Linked DNA regions of Homo sapiens: regions 2, 3 and 4 are each linked to region 1. Evidence: promoter capture Hi-C in human tissues and cell types (Jung and others, 2019). All regions are on one chromosome and are shown on one strand. The core of a region is centred on a gene start or on the middle of the fragment in contact, and the rest is flanking DNA. Distances in the headings are between cores, read along the strand shown.

Region 1 (2,604 bases), core at 59-2,558:
CTTTCTAGAGTCAAGAAATATCTTAAAAGTATAAGAATTGTAGTAAATGTTAGTCTTAGAATTTTGAGATTTGGTGTTCTCCAGGTCGAATGAATGCTCCCTGATCTAGCCTCCCACGGTATATTTCTGTGTCTTTTCTTTCATAAATGCGTGAATGACTCCGGTCTTTGTTATTGGTGGTAGTGTCTCTTGTCCGGAAGCACGGAGAGTACGCATTCATTTCTGTATTTCCCAAGTTTCAGCCACATAATGACCGAAACTTAACAAGTTACTTAACCTCTCCAAACTCCAATATCTTCAAAATAGGATTTGCAAAATGGGAATCACTTTGGCTTTCATAAGGTGGTTGTTAGCCGAAAAGAAAAAATGTGCTTAACACAGTGACGGGAATGCACAGTGGTTGACAATTGGTACTTGCACCGGGCTTAGTGGCTCACGCCTATAATCCCAGCACTTTGGGAGAACGAGGTGGGCGGATCGCTTGAGATCAGGTTCGAGACCAGCCTGGGCAACGTAGGGAAACCCAGTCTCCACAAAAAATACACAAGTTAGACGGTCATGGTGGCGCGCGCCTGTAGCCCCAGCTACTTGGGGGACTGAGGCGGGATGATAGGTTGAGTCTGGGAGTTCGAGGCTGCAGTGAGCCATGATCTCACCACTGCACTCCAACCTGGGCGACAGAGCGAGACCCTGTCTCGAAATTATTTTATTTATTTTATTTTATTTTATTTTTTATTTTGAGACGAAGTTTCACTCTTGTTGCCTAGGCTGGAGTGCAATGATGCGATCTTGGCTCACCGCAACCTCCGCCTCCCGGGTTCAAGCGATTCTCCTGCCTCAGCCTACCGAGTAGCTGGGATTACAGGCGCGCGCCACTACGGCCGGCTAATTTTTGTATTTTCAGTACAGACCTGGTTACTCAATGTTGGTCAGGCTGGTCTCGAACTCCCGACCTCAAGTGATCCGCCCACCTTGGCCTCCCAAAGTGCTGGGATTACAGGCTTGAGCCACCGCGCCCGGCCTCTTATTTTAATTTTTAAAAAGGTACCTGCGAGTTTTAAACAGCTACTCTGGGGCCAGCGTGCTTTTTGATGCGTGCAGGTAAGGATCATTCTGTCCATCTCCTGACACAGAGAAGTCAAAACCTCCGTCCTGGGGTTCGGTCAGTTAGTGGGTCAGATAATCATCTCAGCTCAACCACTACTCCCAACCAGCAGCGGCCACGTCCCCGCGTCGCCCTCAAAGACTACAAGTCCCAGCGTGCCGCGCTCTGGGCCGTGGAAGCCCCGCCTTTTCCGGCGGGCCCCGCTTCCTCGTTGCCCCCGCCGCGGGCGCGAGATGGATTCCGGGTGCTGGTTGTTCGGCGGCGAGTTCGAGGACTCGGTGTTCGAGGAGAGGCCGGAGCGGCGGTCAGGACCGCCCGCGTCCTACTGCGCCAAGCTCTGCGAGCCGCAGGTGAGAAGCTGGGGCCTCTTCGCCTTATCCCGGGCCCCAGGCCTCGCCCTCCGCGGGGCCCCGGCCCCGGCCTCGGCCCCTCCGTCCGCGCGAACGCAAACCCTGGCAGGCTCCAGCGCCCGCCGCGTCCCCCGCCGTCCCTCCTCCTCCACGGGGAAGCGGCTTTCCCAGGCCCCATTCCGGGTCCATGGGCGAGAATCCCCGCGTTGTAAGCGGCTTGACTCCCACTTGGCATTTGGCCGGCCTGGCTGCTGCCGGCTGGTCTCAACGCCCCTGCCCTGCAATCTCCGGTACCTCCCGTTTGTCTTCACTGCTCTTACAGCTGGGCAGTCAGGCCTCCCAAAACGGTGACCTCCGGCAAACCCACTCTCCCCTCCCTCTTCGGCGAGCTCCCCCTGCCCGTACCAACCCCGCGCTGATGGTTAAAGTCCTTCAGTTATATCCGTTTTTCAAGGCACATCTTAAATGTCATCTCCTCTAGGAAGTCTTTTCTGATTTCGTCTTCCAGCCAAATATTTTTGTCTTTGGCCCCCTTCCCTCTATTTAGCTTCTACTTAAAGCACTTGTCAGTATTCCCACAAAGTCCTGAGACCCGGAGTGCTAAATGATCGCACCAGCATGGGTTCTTGATGCCCTTGGCAGTGCCTAACAGTTTTTATTAATAATAGTGACTCCGCGAATATTTTTGAATTAGTAGAGTATTACTTCCTATTCTTTCATGAGTGTAAATAGTTCATCAGTCAAAACTAATATTTATGGAAAATACGGAAGTGTTCCGGGCACTGTGGTGGGTTCCTTCGCATATACTGTCTCATTCGTTCCTCACAATTGTACTGACAAGATGCCAGGCACTCGATAATTACTGAATTGTGTTTTTGGTTATTTCAGTTGCATTTTCTCCTTATCACATACGATCTTTCAAAGTTACCTTCAGCCCTGGATCATGTAGACTCAAAACAGGGATTGGGCTTGGAAATCATGTGGCAGAACATTAAAAAAACTCTGGTTATGAGATAGGACTCTTGAATTCCAGTGTTGGCTTTAACCACTTGCCTTGAAGGTGTCAGCTCCTTATTTGTCCCTTCAGAAAAATAATACATGCTGGCTCACAGAGTTATCGTGGGAGTGAAATGAGATAATGTATATGAA
Region 2 (2,604 bases), core at 64-2,563, 600 kb after region 1:
AATCAGACAGGGAAAAGAGACAGAAGGCTTTGAGCATCGTGTGATAAAGATGACACATTCTAGTGACTCAGTGCCCTGTGACCTGCTGGGGATGCAAAAGGACCATAGTGAGTAGCTCTGTCCATGAGCACAAAAGGCCAGAAGCATCTCTGAAAAGTTGTGTCCAAGAACAGAGAGCACACTCAACAGTCTTGCTTCAACAATCATTTAATAAGACCCTTGGGTGGCTGACAGTGTGGAATGTTCTGGAGAATACCATCTGGCATTTGTATACATCTTTTATGTTGTCTAAGTGCCTTTCCTCACATCACGTCCTCATTCGATACCTTTGTGTCAGCCAGCATTCTTGGTGACCCTGGCTCATCTAAGTATCGAGAGATTTTTTGAACTATGCAGATGGGTCACACAATGGCAGGACCCAGAGCTCTCTGGGGCTGGGACGGGGGAGCGGGAATAAAGGGGTCGTCTCTTCAGGCTCTACCTTTGCCCTGCCTTGGTCCTGACTGTTCTCAATTTTGCATTTCCCTGTTCAGGAATCCGGGGTAAGGGTGTCAGATGGGCCCAGCCTGGGCACACTCCTTGGCCCAGAGACTATGGAGAAACCTTGATGAGAAGGCCCTTCCAAGCTGGGTAAAAAGCAAATTTTGTTGTTGACAGGAGAAGGGGGAATAAGCAACAGATGTTCCCTACATACCCTGTGAGGTGGGGCGTTAGGTGAAAGCATTACCTCCAAGGTACAAATGGGAAACCTGAGGCTCAGAGAGGTGAACTGACATGTCTAAGGTCACGCAGAGATATATAGCAGAGCACAGTTATGTCTATAGATCCTGCTTCTTACACCTAAAGGAGCAGGTGAATCTTGTATTCCGCCTAACCCTTTATCCTTCCTTACTGCTTGAATCACCTGCTTCTTACCCCTCCTCTGTAGCAGCCTCATTACCCCATCACCTGCCATCTCTGGACTGGGAAACATAGATTTTGACTCTACTCCTGGATCCCCAAATTTCCACTACTAACAAAGGATGCTTCTCACTGTGTGGTAATGGAAAAACGGTCAGTCCAGGTTGGCCTTCTGGACACTATGGAAGTCCTTTCTCACTTCTTGTTTCACTGATTAATCATTGTTGGGGATCTGGACCTTGTAGGAGGGAAGATCAGGACACTTAGGGAGTCATTTGTGAAGATCTCTTTGAGATGAGATTGCCTACAAGTGAGGCCTGGACATGGATTCATGGCCCCATCGCGGTAGCATTATTTAGAAATCAATGAACCTTTAGGGACAATGTTTCAAAAACACATGCTCTCTGTTGTCGTAGGAAAAAAGCCCATACTCCCTTGCCTAGCTCCGTGATGCCTCACTTCTGATGCCTGGAGTCATTGATGTTTATGGAAGGCTTCGGAGTCTGCACAGTAGGGAAGGATTACCTGCTCCACCAGTGATGTTTGCTATGGTCGTAGAATGGAGAGAGGTGGTGGGGAATGGTGCAGGTTTGATATTCTTGACTGCAGCTCTCCAGGCTCTTCTCCCAACTTAGCATTCTTGCTTTGTTTCCTCTTCCTCCTCTATGCTTTCTCTACCTTCTGGTGTTCAGGTTTAAAAATAGAAATTAAATGAATTGTTTCTTCAAATGAAATGCATACAGAAGCCCAATAGATAAAGTAGATAAAAACTGAGTTATTCTAGAGATGAATTGAGAGGGCCTTTGGAGTCTACTGTGGCTGTCTGAAAATCCCGGTGTGTGTGGTCAATACTCCAGCCACAATCCAATTCCTGCACTTCCTTGGACATGTTCCTCCCTCCCTCCCTCTTTCTTTTTCCCTTAACCTGGAATGACATCCTGCCCATCCTTCAAGATCCCAGGCCTCACCTGTTCCCTAAACCTTCCCTAATACCCTCTAGCTGGGCACACTGTCTCTCACAACAAAAGCATTCTCTTGAACTTCTCATGGCTTTTAGCGTTGCTCATTCAAGTCCGTTTTGTCCTGATACGCTGTAGATGCCTCTGAGTAGGTCCATGTGTGGTGATTAATCTGAGGTCCTGTAGTCAGTTCTAGTAAAAATGTTACTATTTTTATGTATGGATATTGTTTATTTTGTGTTACAGGTTTTGACAACTCTGTGGTTTTCTACCTCCTTATCCACCTACGTATAACCTTTCTGGACATCTTTTTGTTTTTGTAAAATTGGGATAGTAGTATTATTGGCTTCAGGGTTTCTGAGATGAGTTAGTTTAATTTATGCAAAGTGCTTATAACAGTACCTGGCACAGAGTATGTGCTCAGTAAATATTATTTGTTACTATTATTGTAATTATGATCTCAACACCATTAAGATAACGAGCCTTCTCCACCTTGACTTCATGCCCAGGCTCCTACCAGAGGGGAGGATTGCATTTGCTTTTCACGGGGATTCATGAAGAAGTGAACCTGTGGCTCTTGGCTTGGAGGCTGGGTACATGAAGTGAGAATTAGTCATGGCCTTGTTCACAATCTGAGAACATTCACACTTGTTGCACCTGCTCGGAGAAGCTTGAATTCAATCAGCAAATTTTGCATTTCCCAATCCCAGCCTGGGGAAGAGCTTGACTTTAAAAGCCTTACAAA
Region 3 (2,604 bases), core at 45-2,544, 580 kb after region 1:
TGTAGAAGTCTGAGGGAGGTGCAGGGTTAAGGGGAAAAATTAGGAATTCCATTTTGGACATTTCTAATAAGGGAAACAATGGATTTAAAGATAAAATGTGGGAGTCCTCAGCATGTAGACTGACTTTGAAGCCATGGACTGGATGAGATCACATGGAGAATGAGAGCAGAGAGAGGAAACAAGAAGGCTGAAAGTGAGCCTGGGGTCTGTCAGTCTATATAGGTCAGGAGGAAGAGGGGAATCCAGAGAGGGAGAGATGGAAGAGACAGATTGGGAAGAGGGGAAAAAAGAATGTGGGACTGCCTAGAAACCCAGTAAAAAAAAAGTGTTTCATGAAAAGAAGGATCAACAGTGTCAGTTGCTGCTATTAAGTAAGATGAGGATTAAAATCCATTGTTGGACTTGGTCAGATGCAGGCACTAGTGACCTTGACAGGCCATTGGTGACTTTGTTACATGGTGGGGGTAAAAGTCTGATTGAAATGGGTTGAGAAGAGCCCGAATGTTCTTCTGATTCCAAAGTCAATGCCTACCTTGTTTTGCTAAGCTGCATAGAAAGTTCTCGTGTGCAGGATGCAGTCACTGAAAATGTTGTAGAACTGAAGAATTTGTACCTCATTCTTGGAACCACTCAACCTGGAAGAACAACTCCCTACAAACGTGAAGGCAACTACCTGAGCATAACTGGTTCACTGCCTTTTCTTCTGGGAGTGTGTTGAGTAAAATTTGAACAGAAATATCTGTTTTTCCATCCAGGCTCTAGGCAAAGTCTCCTTCAATGATGGGGCATGGTACAAATTTGTTAGCTCCCTTAACTATGAAGACACAAGAAAAGGTTGGAAATTAGGATTAGGAAAAATAGAAGCTTATTGTTTACTGCCCAGCTTCAAGTACGGGAAATAAAACCTTTTTCCAAGAGCAATACATTGGATTAAATGAAGTAATTTTACTTCAGAATGATACTCCAAGGGGCTTTCCCAAGTAGTAAAACAGACAGCAAAAGCTCTGAAATAAAGTGAGAGAAAGGTGGGAAATGGAAAAGAAAATAAACATGCATCTATTACTGGGTGCATTTTTGTTTGGCCTGTAGGGCATTCCTGCTGACAGCCATTTCTGGCTGTGTATGAGATATGCCATGGAGACATGGGAGGACCAGATGGCACTTCTGAGCCTCACCCTCAGGTACTGATTGTATCCAAAATAAGCCAGGTTGGTAAGGCCAGGAAAACAAGACTTGGGGGATATTTTCTATAAACTGGAAAGACTTCCAACATCTTTCAAAGATGGTTATGGTTCTTGTCTCATAATCCTGTGCTCCCAGGCAATCGCAGTATTCCAAATATTTAATAACAAGTAAAGAAAAGGGCTTGAGTAATTGGAAGGAACTCCAGATCAATCAGAATAGAGGCTGACTGTATCCAAAATTTTAGCTAAATACTAGGCTTATTCCCTATGTCTAGTGAAAAGAGCATGGGTTCTACAGTTGGTAAAGGTTGAGTTCAATCTTGAATGCCTCTTAGAATCCTTTATTGCTCTGTGATTTGCTGAGCCTCATTTTCATCATATCTAAATGGAGGGAATACTATATCCTTGTACTATTTTGAAGATAAAATGAAATGTGTTTCAGTTGTCTATTGCTACTATATAACAAATCATCCAGAAAGCAACAATGATTCACCATTGCTTATGATTCAGTGGGTCAAGAATGCAGGCAGGTCTCAGCTGGGCAGTTCTTCTGTTCTGCTTGGTATACGCTAGGAGTCACTCATCCAGCTGTATCCATCTGGCAGCTTGGCTGGGCTGAAAGGTTCAGGAAGACCTCACACACATGTCTCACACCTCACTTCTCCTTTACATGGCATTTCTCCCAACATGGTATCACATCATTCAGGAATCTGAGCTGCTTTATAGCAAGCTGCCTGATATCTTCAAGTTTCACTCCAGAAATGGCACTGTGTCATTTCTGTCATACTGTACAGGACAAGGCAAGTCACAAGGCTAGGCAAGGTCCAAGGGGAATGGAAAGGGATCCTACGTCTTGATAGGTAGAGCATCATATGTGTACAGGGAGGGAAGGAATCACTGGTGACCATTGTTGGAAACTATCTACCCAAAATAAACCTTTGTGGCTCCAAATATTTTCAGACTAGCATCCAAATTCTTTGGCTTGGCATTCAAGGCCTATGATTATCTAGTCCCTGCCAGCTTCTCCAAGCCTCTTTTCTCAGTGCTCCCTTCCTTGAAGTTTCCACTGTAATCAAATAAACCTCTTGCCATAATTCATTCCAGCTTTGTGTCTTTACATATCTACTATCTCCAAATAAAATCCCCTTCCTTCATACACCTCTCTCTAACTCCGGCTTATATGTAAAAATTCTCCTCAGTGGTGCCTCCTCTGAGAGGTCTTCCTGACTCTGCTTCTGCCTCACTTCTGTGCACTAACTTCACTTAAGCAAAGGCTTCATCTCTTCATATTGATTCTTTCTTTCTTTCTTTCTTTCTTTCTTTCTTTCTTTCTTTCTTTCTTTCTTTCTTTCTTTTACTTTTCTTTCTTCCTTTTCTTTTCTTTTTTTTTTTTTGAGACAGAGTCTCTTTCTATTGCCCA
Region 4 (2,604 bases), core at 44-2,543, 560 kb after region 1:
ATGTCCAGATGGTGGTATGTTCGACTTGTAGATGAATATTTTCTTCCAAGGGAAAAACTTCATGATATATTATTCTTTGAGAAAAAAAAAGATTTGAATACCATGTAGCATATGATCCCAATTTTGGAAATTGTGTATATATTACACCATCATATTGAACAAGCAGGGACTTGTAGGATGCAACAGAAACGAATCGTATTTTTGGTCTCCCACTGTCTTGTTAAGCTTGTTCTGCAATATTTATTCTGCTCCTTAATAAAAGTGGGGCAAGTTCTACGAAGTCTTTTGTCGCCCTTATCTAAGAAAACATGATCCAGTTACTTCTTCCACAAAAACCCAGTCTCCATTGGTAATTAATATGCCCATTCCAGGATAAGGACCCAAATCCTCCCATCGACATTGCAAATGAAAATTTCCTCCCTCTCCCAGCTTTGCTGCATTAGGCTGGCACCTGCAGTGAGAAGGGGTTGTGGGGCTGTGCGCCTCTATTTGCTTCACCTGGTGCTTCCATTTTCCCTCCATACTCCCCCCACCCCTTGGCTTCTCCAGGATTGGCCAGGGCAAGAGGAGAAGAGAGGAGGGAAGCGGGTGGGAAGAGACTCACTCCGCTGGTGGTGTTCCAGCCATCTGGGGTTGACAGATGACTCACCTCATGGGTTCCTTCATGGGTAATTTGCAGCAACCGCCTCTTATCTGCCTTTGCCTGACTGGGAGCATGCATCTCTTCTGACCGTTCCTCCACTGCTTCTCCCTCACCCCCTAGCATCTGGCGCCGCACCTCCCAGGCCAGTTCTGCTCCATGGGAAACTCACACATGCTTTGCCCTGACAGACTCGGGAAAAGCAAGTCTCCCTCAACGCGATCACCTCGTCTCACTCCACCTTCGGCGCAACTGGCCTGCCGCCATCTCTCGCCCTTTAAATTTCTCAGGGTGAGCCAGACATCAATCGATGGAGTCTCCCGTGATCCAGGGAACATGCTGCAAGCCTTCCAGGAGGTCTCATGGAAGCCCCTTCACCTAGGCTTGAGGTGGTTAGAAACAGCCTCTCCCCAGAAGGGTGGGGAGTGTAAGGATTGGCAGCTATCTCCCCAAATTCTTGTCTAATCCCAGCCCAGCTCCAAATTCTTTTTTTTTTTTTTTTTTTTTTCAGAAGGAGTGTCGCTCTGTCACCGGGTCTGGAGTGCAGTGGTGCGATCTCGGCTCCCTGCAAGCTCCGCCTCCCGGGTTCACGCCATTCTCCTGCCTCAGCCTCCCGAGTAGCTGGGACGACAGACACCCGCCACCACGCCCGGCTAATTTTTTTGTAATTTTTTTTTTAGTAGAGACAGGGTTTCACTGTGTTAGCCAGGATGGTCTCGATCTCCTGACCTTGTGATCCACCCGCCTGGGCCTCCCAAAGTGCTGGGATTACAGGTGTGAGCCACCGCGCCCGGCCTCCAAATTCTTTAAAGTTCGGGTGGTGGATAGATTGGGGCCCTAAAACCCGTTTCTGACTACCTCCTGTGTAAGTCTTTGTGGTCTTTCACTTTTCCTTAGAAATGGGGTGCAGTCACTCTTGGTGTCTTGGAGCCTCGGCTGATACTAAAACAGAACCTGTTTTAACACACTGTTTTGCACAAACACAGAATAAAGAGGCAGACGGTATGCCTGTCAGTCTTGCAGAGGCCTCCGGGAAAGAGAAGATGGGGAACTGGATAGCATGATTTCCAGGGTTCCTTCCAACCCAGAGATTGCACGGCAGGCTGGCAGGGAATAAGAGAAAGCATTGGACCTATTCCCTGACTGTGCTATTAGAGAGACAAGACACGCACTAAGCACCCTGGTAGCAGATCATCACAAATGCTCTTGATGGTAATATAAATGCAACAACAATAAGTATGAACAGTCAAGCCTTGAACCGTTTGGAATGAGCTTTATGTCTCAGAGAATAGGGAGGAGTCAACTCACTGTTGTAGAAAGTTGCTGAGAGGAGGTAGACGTCAACTAAACTTGGTGTTCTGAGAACACGCCTTTAAACCTCCTTGGCCTCTCCTCCTGGGCACTTCGCACTTGTTTGTTCTCCCAAATGCCTCCTTGCCAGGAAATCAGTCCCAGTCCCTGTAGTTGGAGGTAAAGTTGTCATCTACTTTTTGCCATTGCACTTTATCTACACTACTTTTGTGCATCTTGTCTTATAATTGAGTGGAAGCCTCAGAAGGACAAGGGCTTCTTTCTTTACTCACAGTGATATTTCCTTTCTGGGCCCGGCACATGGGGACACACACATACACGCACACACACACAAACACGCACATGCACACACACATGCAAACACACACACATGCATATGCACACATGCCCACACGCACACACATGCACACACACGCACACACATGCACACACATGCACATGAGCACGTTGATATTATTCTTTTGTCCACGGCACTGAGTTAGCGGTTGGCTGAGTCAGGGTTGGAGCTGGGTTTCTGGGTTTCCACTGCACAGCTCTTTCTACCTCCTACCCTGGACTCTCCACTCTCTGGCTTCCCAGGTCTCTGGGCACCAGGAGGCTGGAAAGCACTTTGCTGGATATTCCAATTCTGTTGGCATTTGTGACTGAGGACA

Evidence for each region. Contacts are between HindIII fragments. The study calls those that stand out against the background at their distance.
Region 2: a fragment that was not itself captured here is called in contact with the fragment with the promoter of C8orf76 in region 1 in 1 of the 25 tissues and cell types used here (aorta).
Region 3: a contact is called between a fragment that was not itself captured here and the fragment with the promoter of C8orf76 in region 1, in 2 of the 25 tissues and cell types used here (IMR-90 fibroblasts and dorsolateral prefrontal cortex).
Region 4: a contact is called between a fragment that was not itself captured here and the fragment with the promoter of C8orf76 in region 1, in 1 of the 25 tissues and cell types used here (aorta).

What each region holds. Positions count from the first base shown.
Region 1 is chr8:123,240,081-123,242,684 of GRCh38, reverse strand. C8orf76 (chromosome 8 open reading frame 76) reads left to right here and starts at 1,308. Exons shown (of 6, transcript NM_032847.3): 1 at 1,308-1,455. The coding sequence starts at 1,339. The region is part of intron 2 of ZHX1-C8orf76 (ZHX1-C8orf76 readthrough); the gene reads left to right. RefSeq lists a silencer at 1,402-1,521 and an enhancer at 1,022-1,522. The HindIII fragment of the contact is 18,562 bases long and covers 1-2,604 here.
Region 2 is chr8:122,635,182-122,637,785 of GRCh38, reverse strand. No RefSeq gene overlaps it. Among named protein-coding and RNA genes, the nearest start is that of LINC01151, 58 kb to the left of the region's middle. The HindIII fragment of the contact is 5,244 bases long and covers 1-2,604 here.
Region 3 is chr8:122,663,491-122,666,094 of GRCh38, reverse strand. No RefSeq gene overlaps it. Among named protein-coding and RNA genes, the nearest start is that of LINC01151, 29 kb to the left of the region's middle. The HindIII fragment of the contact is 4,474 bases long and covers 1-2,604 here.
Region 4 is chr8:122,681,575-122,684,178 of GRCh38, reverse strand. All of the region lies in intron 2 of LINC01151 (long intergenic non-protein coding RNA 1151), which reads left to right. Among named protein-coding and RNA genes, the nearest start is that of LINC01151, 11 kb to the left of the region's middle. The HindIII fragment of the contact is 7,881 bases long and covers 1-2,604 here.